Linked DNA regions of Homo sapiens: all the other regions are linked to region 2. Evidence: promoter capture Hi-C in 16 types of primary human blood cells and fetal thymus (Javierre and others, 2016). All regions are on one chromosome and are shown on one strand. Each heading gives the region's core, a stretch centred on a gene start or on the middle of the fragment in contact. The rest is flanking DNA. Distances are from core to core; before and after follow the strand shown.

What was found. Contacts are between HindIII fragments. The CHiCAGO score rates a contact against its expected background, and 5 or more counts as called.
Region 1: a contact is called between the fragment with the promoter of SSU72 here and the fragment with the promoter of GNB1 in region 2, in 1 of 17 cell types (total CD4 T cells). The highest score is 5.1, in total CD4 T cells.
Region 3: a contact is called between the fragment with the promoter of MIB2 here and the fragment with the promoter of GNB1 in region 2, in 1 of 17 cell types (neutrophils). The highest score is 6.3, in neutrophils.

Annotation. Positions count from the first base shown.
Region 1 is chr1:1,572,399-1,576,273 of GRCh38, forward strand. It overlaps SSU72 (SSU72 homolog, RNA polymerase II CTD phosphatase), which reads right to left and starts at 2,465. Exons shown (of 5, transcript NM_014188.3): 1 at 2,080-2,465. The coding sequence starts at 2,159. SSU72-AS1 (SSU72 antisense RNA 1) reads left to right here and starts at 2,549. Exons shown (of 1, transcript NR_197593.1): 1 at 2,549-3,875. RefSeq lists silencers at 1,949-2,028, 2,269-2,428 and enhancers at 2,549-2,658, 2,669-2,738. The HindIII fragment of the contact is 11,232 bases long and covers 1-3,875 here.
Region 2 is chr1:1,889,569-1,893,535 of GRCh38, forward strand. It overlaps GNB1 (G protein subunit beta 1), which reads right to left and starts at 1,519. Exons shown (of 12, transcript NM_002074.5): 1 at 1,252-1,519. It overlaps GNB1-DT (GNB1 divergent transcript), which reads left to right and starts at 1,612. Exons shown (of 2, transcript NR_168264.1): 1 at 1,612-1,815; 2 at 2,332-3,158. RefSeq lists silencers at 834-1,023, 1,584-1,773, 1,894-1,993, 2,054-2,303. The HindIII fragment of the contact is 9,511 bases long and covers 1-3,967 here.
Region 3 is chr1:1,613,155-1,617,154 of GRCh38, forward strand. It overlaps MIB2 (MIB E3 ubiquitin protein ligase 2), which reads left to right and starts at 2,346. Exons shown (of 20, transcript NM_001170687.4): 1 at 2,346-2,479; 2 at 3,354-3,460. RefSeq lists an enhancer at 1,841-2,010 and silencers at 2,111-3,160, 3,191-3,280. The HindIII fragment of the contact is 6,747 bases long and covers 1-4,000 here.

The DNA of each region.
Region 1 (3,875 bases), core at 1,215-3,714, 320 kb before region 2:
GCCTGGGCTACAGACTCCCCCTCAAGAAAAAAAATATATATTCTACTCCAACTTTATTTTATTTATGTATTTATTTGAGATGGAGTCTTGCTCTGTCGCCCAGGCTGGAGTGCAGTGGCATGATCTCGGCTCAATGCAAGCTCCGCCTCCTGGGTTCATGCCATTCTCCTGCCTCAGCCTCCCGAGTAACTGGGACTGCAGGCGCCCGCCACCACGCCCGGCTAATTTTTTTGTATTTTCAGTAGAGACGGGGTTTCATCGTGTTAGCCAGGATAGTCTCAATCTCCTGACTTTGTGATCCGCCCATCTCGGCCTCCCAAGGTGCTAGGATTACAGGTGTGAGCCACTGCGCCCGGCCTACTCCATCTTTGTTATGCAGGTACAGCAGAAAATCTTGAACAAAGGATCACCAAGGAGAACCAGCAGAACCAGAAGGTCTCCAGCCCATTTGTTATTCCAATTAACAATAATTTTGTCTTGGGGGGGGGGGGGTGAGCCTTGCATTGTTTTGCTTAAATGTATCAAATTTTTACAGGTAACTGCAGTTTATAAATGAAGATCCAGCACAATGTAATTCTAGCACATTTCTAGTTTTAAAAACAACCTTTGGCCGGATGCGGTGGCTGACGCCTGTAATCCCAGCACTTTGGGAGGCCGAGGCGGGCAGATCACCTGAGGTCAGGAGTTTGAGATTAGCCTGGCCAGCATGGTGAAGCTCCGTCTCTACTAAAAATACAAAAAAAGCCGGGCGCAGTGGCTCACGCCTGTAATCCCAGCACTTTGGGAGGCCGAGCGGGCAGATCACGAGGTCATAAGATCAAGACCATCCTGGCTAAGATGATGAAACTCCGTCTCTACTAAAAATACAAAAAAAAAAAAAAATTAGCCGTGCCTGGTGGCCGGTGCCTGTAGTCCCAGCTACTCGGGAGGCTGAGGCAGGAGAATAGCTCGATCTCGGGAGGCACAAGTTGCAGTGAGCCGAGATCGCGCTACTGCACTCCAGTTTGGGCGACAGAGCAAGACTCTGTCTCAAAAAAAAAAAAAAAAAAAAAAAAAAAGAAAGAAAAGAATAAAGAGAAAGAATCAGCAGATCATGAACACTTGACACTGATTTTTGGGGGGTGTTTTTTGGTCTCCAACTCCTGACTTCAGGTGATCCGCGTGCGTCGGCCTCCCAAAGTGCGGGGACTACACGCGTGAGCCACCGTGCCTGGCCCACGTGACACTGTTAAAAACGGAAAAAAAAGGGGGACTGTTAATTTTCCCAAGTTGCTCAGGAAAGTTATAGCTGGACTGCGAGAAGAGAAGCGAAACACTGTTTTCATTTAAAGTTCACGTAGGTAACTTTGGAGGTAAAAAAGCCATTTCAACTTTCTTACTATCAAAGTTGACACATACCAAATTTTAACTGTAAGTCAAGTGGTCAGTTTCTCAGTTTGCTATGTGACTGAACAAAAAACTTGTTATCAAGCAGGAATAAACTTTCATTAGACATACGCTACGCAAGAGTCACAGGCGGCCAGTTAGCAGGGAATATAAACTAGCAGAGCCAAACCAAGTCCACGTTGTATTCCAGAAACTACCGGTTGGAGGCGTTCCAGGGAGGAAGAGAGGATCTTTCGCAAAAAAAAAAAAAGAAGAAGAAGTAGCAAACACACAAATCCATGGCATTAAAAAAAGAGACCGCTTTGTTATTTACAACATCGTGGTATGCCGTGATTGTGTTGCGCGCCGTTTCCAGGGAAGGTGGCCAACGACGCACACGAAATACCATGATCGGCCGCCGCCGCGCAGCCCCTCGCCGCGGACGCTACCCTCGCCCCCCGGGCCCGGCCTCGGAGAGCTCGAAGGACCACCGGACAGCGGGCGCCTCGTCCCGGAACCTGCCTTCCCTGTGATGCCCACCCGCGTGTGGACTACGCGCGCTGCCGTCCAGCTGCCATCCCAACCAGCCGACCCACGAGCGCGGCCCGGCCCGGCTTCCTCTCAGGGGTCCTGGCGCGGGCCAGGGGGAACCGGGGAGGAGGGAGGGCCGGTCGCCGGAGCAGAGCGCGCGGGGACAGGGTGGAGCCCAACTACCTGAGGATGTTGTGCGCCTCCATGCTCCGGTTCTGGTTGCTCGAGCACACCACCGCCACCCGCAGCGGGGACGACGGCATGGCGGCGGCCGCAAATCCCGCGGCTCTCCCGCTTGGGTTCCCACCCTACCGCGGCGCTTCCGCGCGAACAAAATGGCGGCCGCGGTGGCCGGAAGCGGGCGACGCGAAACGACGGCGCCGGCGGTGTAGCGTGCGGCGACTGCGCGGCGGCCTCCCCGCCCACCCTGGGCGCCGGGCCGCGGACGGAGCGCAGGCACTGGCCTTCGGGCGCGCTGCACTCGGCGAGGCCGGGGGCGGCCAACGCCGCGCCGGCCCCCGGCGTCCGCAGCAGAGACCCGCACTCCACAAGGCCCGGCTGAGCGTCACGGCGCCAAGCGGCGGCGTCCTGACATCAGCACCCCGCGCCGGCGCCTAGTGTGACGCGACGACGTGCGGAACAACAGGACGTCATAAGGTGTCGCCGCCGCCTTTGGGAGCGATGCGAAACGCCGCGCTTGCCGGAGATAGCATTGAGGGCCCTTCCGCGGCCCGGCGTTTCGTCTCTTGGGACGATTTTGTGCGTTCCCTCGGTCCCCGTGGGGCCCATAGTCCTCACTTCTGCCACCCCAGAGTCGTCGCGCTTCACTAGACCCGCTCCCTCCACTGTCCCGGAGGCCCACAGACATTCCCGCATTCTGAGGCTCGCTCCCGTCCCGTGCCGCTGTTACCGGCCTCCGGCCCCGGCTCATACAAGCAGGAGCACATCGCTCTTTTATGAAAGCCCTTCAACATTTAACGTTTAAATGCGAGGGCCGACCTGTGACAGACCTGGTTGGGAGTGCACGTCGACTAGGATCTTCCTCGCCTCGGGCTTCCTTGGAGAGGCCGCCGGCTGGTCTGAGATTTGGGTCCAGTTACAGTAAATCCAGTCAACGCGAGTGTGTCATTCCCCAGCTATGCCTGTCTGCCTGGATGCAGCCTCGCGGTGGACAGTGGGCTGATGTTTTGCCGTGGGAGCGCCACGGACGGGAGAGGGAGTGATAATGATTGTCAACCTAATAACAGGCTAACTGAAAATGATATTTATTTGGGAATAGGGCGTTGGCGAATATGCGTGCCATAGTAAACGATTTGCGCATTCAGGAAAGTAATGGTTTTTAAAGAAAAAATGAAGAGGAAGATAATGGTTTGGAAATAATTAACCTTGGCTACAAAGAACAGTAACAAGTGTACTCCCGGCCGGGCGCGGTGGCTCACGCCTGTAATCCCAGCACTTTGGGAGGCCGAGGCGGGCGGATCACGAGGTCGGGAGATCCAGACCGTCCTGCCTAACCCGGTGAAACCCCGTCTCTACTAAAAATACAAAAAATTAGCCGGGCGTGGTGGCGGGCGCCTGTAGTCCCAGCTACTCGGGAGGCTGAGGCAGGAGAATGGCGTGAACCCGGGAGGCGGAGCTTGTAGTGAGCCGAGATCGCGCCACTGCCCTCCAGCCTGGGCGACAGAGCCAGACTCCGTCTAAAAAAAAAAAAAAACAAGTGTACTCCCGTTCCAGGGTTGGACAGGCAGTTGCTGGGCAGCTGTCCTTGCTGAAGTATTTTTTGTGTAAGATTGCCTTAGTGCAAGGTTGTGGTTTTTGCAGAATCTTGTGATAGTTTTTCTTATTATTGATTCATGAGAATTCTCCATGGCCTTTCCCAGCTGTCTTTGTCAAGGTATTTTTTAAACATAAGTGAGTCCACTTTTATTTGACAACTTGGGTATTTTCCCCTTTTGATTGAGATCTTTCTCCAAATGCAT
Region 2 (3,967 bases), core at 269-2,768:
TGGGAGGCTGAGGCGGGAGGATCGCTTGAGCCCCAGAGTTCGAGACCAGCCTGGTTAACAGGATCTCTTTTACAAAGAGATCCCATCTCTTAAAAAAAAAAAAAAAAAAGGCTTCCATGAAGATGAATTAAGCAAACAAAAGCTGATACTGCTTCTGCATGCTAACCATGTAATTTAACGGACACAAGAAATGTTAAAATATCATTTGAATCAACTATCGATTCACAAGAAAAAATATAGCAGGTTCTTAAAAGTCAAAAGCCTCAGCCGACAGCCCTGTGGAATTTTCAACAGATCTCCCCACTCCCCACCCCCACCCCGCTTCCAGCCGAAAAGCCGATCCAGGCAAGAGGAAGACACCCAGCCTTTGTGCTATTTCCTGTCCTCTCCCCCACCTTCGGGCCTTCGGAATATCGCAAACCGGGCCCCGAAACTCGGCGCGGCGGCGGCCGCCCCACAAAGGCAGCGGTGGGAGCGCCATCTTGGCGCGGCCACCGGGCCCATTCATTCGCGGGGCCGGGCCGGGGTCCGCGCAACCCTCGAGTCGACACGCGCGGGGCGCCAGCGCCGGACAGACCCGGGCCTCGGCAGGAGAAGGGCGAGGCCACAGCGCGACTGCCTCAGCGGCTCGACACAGCGAAAAGGGCCGAAACCGTTATTTTCCCATTTCCCGACGCCGCGCCCGGCTTCCGCTTTAAATCCCTACTCCGACCGCGGCGCGCGGCCCGGCTTCCCCATTTCATTGTTCCCCTTCCCCACGCTCGCGCCCCGCGGCCGCCCGGCCCTCAAAGTCACCCCGATAGGCGGCCCGCGCGGGGGCTCCGGCCGCCGACACCGCCCCGCCTGCAGGCCCGCCCGGCCTTTGTTCTCGCGCCGCGGGCCCGAGAGCCACGTCCGGCTCCCCACGCAGGGCCCGGCCCCGCCCGACCCGCGCCCCCGGGGCCCCGGCCGCCGCCACGGGAAGCGCCCGCGGCGCACACAACCCCGCACCCCGGTGCCGAAACTCGGCCCCCAGCCTTGGGCCTGGGACCCCGGCTCCTCTCCCTAGACCCCGCCCTCGACCCCGACCCTGCACCCCGAACCTCGGACCCCAGCCCCCGGCCCCCCCTTCGGACGCCGCCCGCCGCACCCGGGCGGGGCAGGAAGACGCGGCCCCGACCGGCGGGTGGGGTGGGGGCGGGGCGGGCGCCCCCAGGGCGGGCGGGTGGACGAACAGGACCCGGGTCCGGGGCTGGGGGCTGCCGCGCTCACCTCAGCGCCCTCGTCGCGGCCTGACGCGCCCACACCGCCGCCTCGGCCGCCGCTCGGCAGGTCGTCGCGCTCGGGCCGCGCTGCGCGCTCCGCGGGCGCTGCGGGCAGGTGCGCGCCGGCGAGGCTCGGTCCAGTCCCGCCGCGGCGGCTGCTCCACTCCCGGCCCCGCTCCCCACTCGCCGCCCGCTCCCGCTCCCGCCGCCGCCGCCGCCGCCTCCGTCCGCCCCTCAGACGCCTCCAGCCATCGGGATGGGCGCGGCGGGCCCCTGCCCGCAGCCTCGGAAAACCCCACGCGCTCGCGTCACCACGCACGCCGCGCGTCGCGCGCGCTCGCCAGGCCCGACGGGCACGCGCACGCCTGTGCGCGTCCAAACCGCATCGGGCCCCGAGCGCGTGTCCGAGCGGCTTAAAGGGGCCGTGCTGCTGCCTTCGGGTACCGCTGCCCCGGGAGACCCCCGGCGGCCCGGCCCTGCGGGGACCGGGCGGGATGGGGACCGGGGCAGTGGACCCTCGGAGTTGGGATGGGGCGGGGGGAACGCGGGCGTGGAGCCCTCCGGGGACAGGGTAAGGTTGGGTAACCGTGGGCGGGGGCTCCTCCAGGGGCGGGGGTGGGGTAACGGCGGGCGGGGGGCACTCAAGCGACAGGGCAGGGGCGGGAAGGCCGCGGGCGGGGGCGGTCCCTCCGGGGACGGGGCGGGTGGGGGCACCGCGGGCGAGATCGCTTCCTGCAGAGGAGGCAACAGGCCCCGCTAGCAGGTCAGGGTCCCGGGCAGGCGCAGGTGCCCCCCGGCCTCTCAAGCAGGGACTGCGGCGAGCTCAGACGCGGCTGACGGGCAGAGACTCGCGCTTGGGCTCAGTGCGTGTGAAGTGGGCCTCGGGCTGCGGAGGAGGGCAGCACCCCGTGGCTCCTCGCGCTGCTGCGAGCAGGGCCGCCTGGCAGGGGCGGGGGCCGGTGGGCGGGAGTGTCGGGGTAAGGCCGCGGACTCCTCCCATGCCGCTGAGCAGTGGACAGCGGGGACTGGAGACCTCCAGGTGAGGAAGGGGAACGAAGTCAAGAAGGCCACATGTCCTGGCTTCCAGGCTTGGTGTCCTCAGAAGCCTCCAGAACGTCCATGGAACCCGCCCCTGCGCCCACCGCCTCCTGCTGTCTTTCCAGCTGAGTTCCGGCTGCCCCTCACCCTCGGCTTCTTCACTCTGCCTCTCCCCAGCCAGCGCCCTGCTCCCCGGTCCTCAACCACCACCTTCCACCTGCCTGGGCCTTCATCGCCTCCGAGCTCCCCTTCCACACCAAACCTGGCGTCCGTTTTCCTCCAGGCCTGCACCAGCACAGCTGAAGGGGAGAGAGACCCAACCTCATCCACTGGGCCTCCCCTCAACCAGGGCCACAACCTCAAGGGGCCATGCCACCTCCAACACCTATTTCCCACCTTCTACTCTCTCCACACCCTGGGACACCACCCGCCTCTCTCAGCTGACGTTTTCCTTCTTGTTTTGTGTGCATGGTGCTTGTGTGAGAAAGTGGACACACAGTAAGTGCGGCTTCCAGATGCGTCCGCCACCTGCCCTCCGTGCCACGCGCTTCCCCCTACCTAGGGGAGCCTCCACCAGACAGGGAACCCACGCCTTGCCACCCTTCTCTCTCCCTCCCACTTCACCTGTCCGCATCATTTCTGGAGCCCTTTCTTTCTGGCACGAGATGCTCCAGGGCCCTGTTGTATTCTCCCTGCCCCAGCCTGAACCCAGCTATTTCTGCTGCAGCCTGGTTCATTGTGGGAGAATGTCATGCAGAGCCCGGGATCTGGCTCCGGATGTGCTCATTGCTACTGGGGTGTCATTGCAGCTGGCGGAGCAAGGGAACACATCTATGTACATGCCCACACGCATATGTATACACACAGTTTCATGGGCGTGTTTGTCTGTTTTTCTTGGGCACCACGTGTTTACTCTGATGCCAGGCCAACACTACAGGGCTCAACCTGTTCGGAATGAGGGGCCTCCTGCTTTGGGAGTGAGGAACCTGGCTCTGATTATCTCCTGTGTAACCAGTCTCTCATCCTTGCTTCCACCCCACCATATGCTACCCGCTCCTCACCCTGCGTGGCCTCTGACCTCCGCTGGACCACCGAGGCCCCGCCCCCACAGGGGCGCCTGCCTGCCTAGCACAGTTGAGCAAGGAGTGAATTCCCAGTGAAATTTTTTTAATTTTTATTTTATTTATTTATTTTGGGTTTTTTTTTCTTTCTTTCTTTCTTTTTGAGATGGGGGTCTCCCTGTGTTGCCCAGGCTGGTCTCAAACTCCTGGGCTCCAGCGATCCTCCCACCTCAGCCTCCCAAAGTGCTGAGATCACAGGCAGGAGCCACTGCGGACACAGCCTGAATTGTCAATCATATCACTCCTGTGCCTGAAACCATTGACAGTTCCCATCACCCGCCCTCTCCCCAGTGTCCAGGCCCCTCCTCCCCTCCCCACTATCAAGACACTGGCTCCTGATGCTCCCCGACACCACCGAATTCCATCCTCCAGGCTTTGGCCCAGTGGCTCCATCTGCCTGGGACGGTCTCCCCATAACCTCGTGTAGTTCAGGCCTTTGCGGGTGTCACGTCCATGGAGATGTCTCCCCAGCCCTAACCATCCCTCCCAGGTGCCTCTCTGCCTGCTCCGGGCCCTCCCCCTGTTGCAGTGTGAGCACTGTGAAGCCCACTCTTAACCGCTGCT
Region 3 (4,000 bases), core at 1,096-3,595, 280 kb before region 2:
TCTGGCTTTTTTTTTTTTTTTTTTTGAGACGGATTCTTGCTCTGTTCCCCAGGCTGGAGTGCAGTGTCACGATCTCAGCTCACTGCAACCTCCACCTCCTGGGCTCAAGCAATTCTCCTGCCTCAGCCTCCCAAGTAGCTGGGACTACAGGCGTGCACCACCATGCCTGGCTAATATTTTTTTTTTTTGTATTTTTGTATTTTTAGTAGAGACAGGGCTTCACCATGTTGGTCAGGTTGGTCATGAACTCCTGACCTCAAGTGATCTGCCCTCCTCAGCCTCCCAAACTGCTGGGATTACAGGCGTGAAGCCATCGCACCCAGCCAATCCCAGCACTTCAGAAGGCAGAGGTGAGCAAACAGCATAGCCCAGGAGTTTGAGACCAGCCTGGGCAACATGGTGACACCCTGTCTCTACTAAAAATTTAAAAATAACCGGCATGGTGGTGCATGTCTGTGGTCCTAGCTACTCAGGAGGCTGAGGTGGGAGGATCACTTGAATCCAGGAAGCAGAGGCTGCAGTCAACCAAGATAGTGCCACTGCACTCCAGCCTGGGCAACAGAGCAAGACCCTGTCTCAAATACAAAACAAAACAAAAAACAGTTGGTAGAGAGCTTAGGATTTTATTTTTCGTTTACACAGGGAATCCAAGAAAGGAGACAGACAAAGTGAGTCTCAAGGATGAGAGCAGAGAAAAGCTCGAGATAAGAGCTGTGCAGCCGGGTCAGGAAGTGATCGGTCTAGGTCGGAACAGGAGAATCAGTTAGACACAACGGATGTGTTTGAGCCTTTGGAAAACGGTATCGTTAGGCATGTGGCGAAAACGTTGGGGTACTTGAAAAAAAGGCTGGCCATGGGTTAGTAAAAAGCTAGATATGTGAAAATATTAGGTAATTATTAACTCAAAAGAAAAAAAAAGATTGTACAGGAATTGTGGCATGGTTTTATACTGTAGCAGTGAACAGCAGGTACTCAATCATGAAGAGCTAAGCCTGATTTCATCACGACAGCTGTGAAAGTTGCAGGTACCAAAATGGAACTACTTCCACCAATCCCTAAACAAATGGAGTCGGGAGGCCACGAAGGGGGAGCTCTCATGCAGGAATACCTGCAGCAGGCCTCCTCACAAGACGCTCCTGCACGTCCTGCACGTTTGCCTGTAACCGGACTTACTGCAGGGAAATTCCTCAGGACTGCAGTATTCTAGATAAGCAGCTTGCACAAGGACGTCGGCCTGGTAAGGCTCTCTCCAACAACAAGCTAACGCCCACTCCTGCAGCAAGCGCCCACAGCCAGTGGTTTTTGTTACAAAACAACTTTTGTGAGCTCATCTGTATTTTCCCCTTCGCCCGGCCCTCTCAGATAGGCCTATGATCTGTCATGGCACGAACAGCCTAGGCTGCAACCCCCTGCGATTCCCAGATTAACTCACTTGTCCTGGAGAGCCTGCCTCTGGGTTTCCTTTCAGGTTGACAGTTTGGGAGCTAACAGGACCACGTGAGGGGTGCAGCGGGGAAGATCAGCCAGGTTCTCAGGGACCTTCTCCGGAAGTACGCAATGTCTACAATTAAGAAATGAGAGGCCGGGCGCGGTGGCTCACGCCTATAATCCCAGCACGTTGGGAGCCCTAGGAGGGCAGATCACGAGGTCAGGAGTTCGAAATCAGCCTGGCCAAAATGGTGAAACCCCGTCTTGACTAAAAATGCAAAAATTAGCTGTGCGTGGTAGCGCATGCCTGTAGTCCCAGCTGCTCGGGAGGCTGAAGCAAGAGAATAGTTTAAGCCCTGGAGGCGGAGGTTGCAATGAGCCGAGATCGCGCCATTGCACTCCAGCCTGGGCGACAGGGCGAGGCTCCGTCTCCAAAAAAAAAAAAAGAAAGAAAGAAAGAAATGAGAAACTAGCAGTGCATTGTTCAGAAACGCGGAGACTTCTCTCAGGAGAAAGCGAGAAGCAAGCGTCCAACTCTGGGGTGCAGAACCCGGGGCGGGAGGACGGGCCCGGACTGCCGTTTCTCGCTGTGTCCAGGTCTGCGTGACTCAAAACCCCGGATAGGGCCCGCACTGGTGGAGTCGGAAAGAGGTGGCTGCGGCGCGGCAAGTGCCGCCAGTGCCAGCGAGCGCGACGTCGCTCCCAAGCCCCCGTCTCTATGGCAACCGAGTGCGTCTCTAGGACCGCCACTGCGCAGGCGCCCGGAGGCTAAGCCGCTCGGAACCTAGCTGCGCCACGCAGGGTAGGCGACGCAGACGCTCCCGCGTGACGCACTTCCGGTGCTTGCCCTGCCCATCCCCGTGGCGGGGGCGTGGCCATGGCGGGGGCGCTCCGGCGGGGGCGGGCCCTGGGCTCCCGCCCTTCGGGTCCCACAGTTTCCAGCCGCCGCTCTCCTCAGTGCCCGGTGGCCCAGGAGGGCCTGGGAGCCCGAAGCCGTCCCCGAGTCGCTCCTAGGTCACTGGCGCGATGCGGGCCGTCCTCTCGGCTGATGGTGCGTGCGGGCGCGGATCTCCTCCCCTGGTCCTCCGCACCGTCCCCGAGTCGTTCTCCGCTCTGGCAGAACGCGAGCGCCGTCCGGTTCCCGCTCCCGCTGGCCCAGCAGCCCCGGGCTGGACTCGGCGTAGGGTCCGCACGGGATGGGCTGGGGCTGCGCGCGCAGCGCCGCCGCGGGGCCTCCTGGGAGTTGTGGTCCGGCCACCCGCGCGGGACTCCAGCTCCCGGCAGGCCTCGCGCGGCCCGGGGCCAGCGGCGCTGGGGTCGGCGCTGGGGTCGTCGTCCGGGCCGGGTGGGCTGCGGCGCGCGGCAGGCGCTCTGGCCTGGCCTGGCCGCCGCTGAGCAGTCGGGGCCGGTGGGTGGCCTCGAACGCCGGGACAGACCGACAGACGGACTGGCCGGCGGTCCCGCGCCCCCGAGCGGAGCGGGCGGGACGGAAACGTCCGGGCAAGTTGGGGTCGGCAGGTACTGCGCGGCCCTGGCAAGGTCTGGCAGCGGACAGGGCCGGGCGGCCTCCGCGAGCCACGGGCACGAATGACAGGGGGCGGGGCGCGCTCCGGGTGGGGGTGCCCGCCGTGCCCGCCCCTGGCCCGCCCGTTCCCCTGCGCCGGCGCCCGTGCGCGTCCCGGAGCCTCCTGACGTCTGCGAGCCGCGGCCGCCAGACCCCGGGCGCACGCAATTACGGGCCCGGCGCTGGCGGCTCCTGCGCGCTCAGACCCCAGGGAGCCCATCCGGGCAGGCGGCGGCCCTGAGTGTCGCGGCCGTGGGCCCGAGTGGACCTGGAGCCGGCGGGCAGCCCCGGGGGCAGACAGGCGACCGAGCCGCGGGTCGAGGTGCTAACTGTGCATCTTGGCATCTCCCCTCGGCCACAGGGTTGGAAGCCCAGCGAGGCTAGAGGCCAGTCCCAAAGTTTCCAGGCATCAGGGCTGCAGCCCAGGAGCCTCAAGGCGGCCCGGCGGGCGACTGGACGGCCGGACAGGTGAGCTCTTGATCGTCCGCGGCCTGATAGTTTGCACTTGGCTCTCCCACTTTGGGGCTCCGTGGAAGCCACGTCAGAGAGGCTGTGTTTGTGTCTGAGCATGCATGCGAGTGGAGGGGAGTGGTGAGTAATCCCGCGTCTCCTCTCTGAGTTCGGAACCCATGGAGGAAGAAAGCAGAGGTGCCAGACAGGCCTCTGATAGGCACCTGCAGGATTGGGGCAGAGCGGCCGCAGCGCAGGAGCGCCGGCAAGCCTGGCCCTTCCCGGGAGGCCCCCTTTGTCCGGTTCCACCCTGGCCTGTTGCCTCACATGCAACAAGTGTCTGAATGTGGCGCTCTCCTGGCCGAGGGCAGCCCTGGGCGGTGAGTGGGATGACACCCCAGCCTGCAGGGTGCCTGTAGGTCTCCACCCAGATGGGCAGGATTGGAGGTGGCCGCAGCGCTCGTGGGCTTTCCCTCAGCAGGTGTCTCCATGCTGGCCTCCCCGCCTCAGGGCTTCATCCCACTCCGTGGGCCTGATCTCCCTGGGGCACCTGGGATG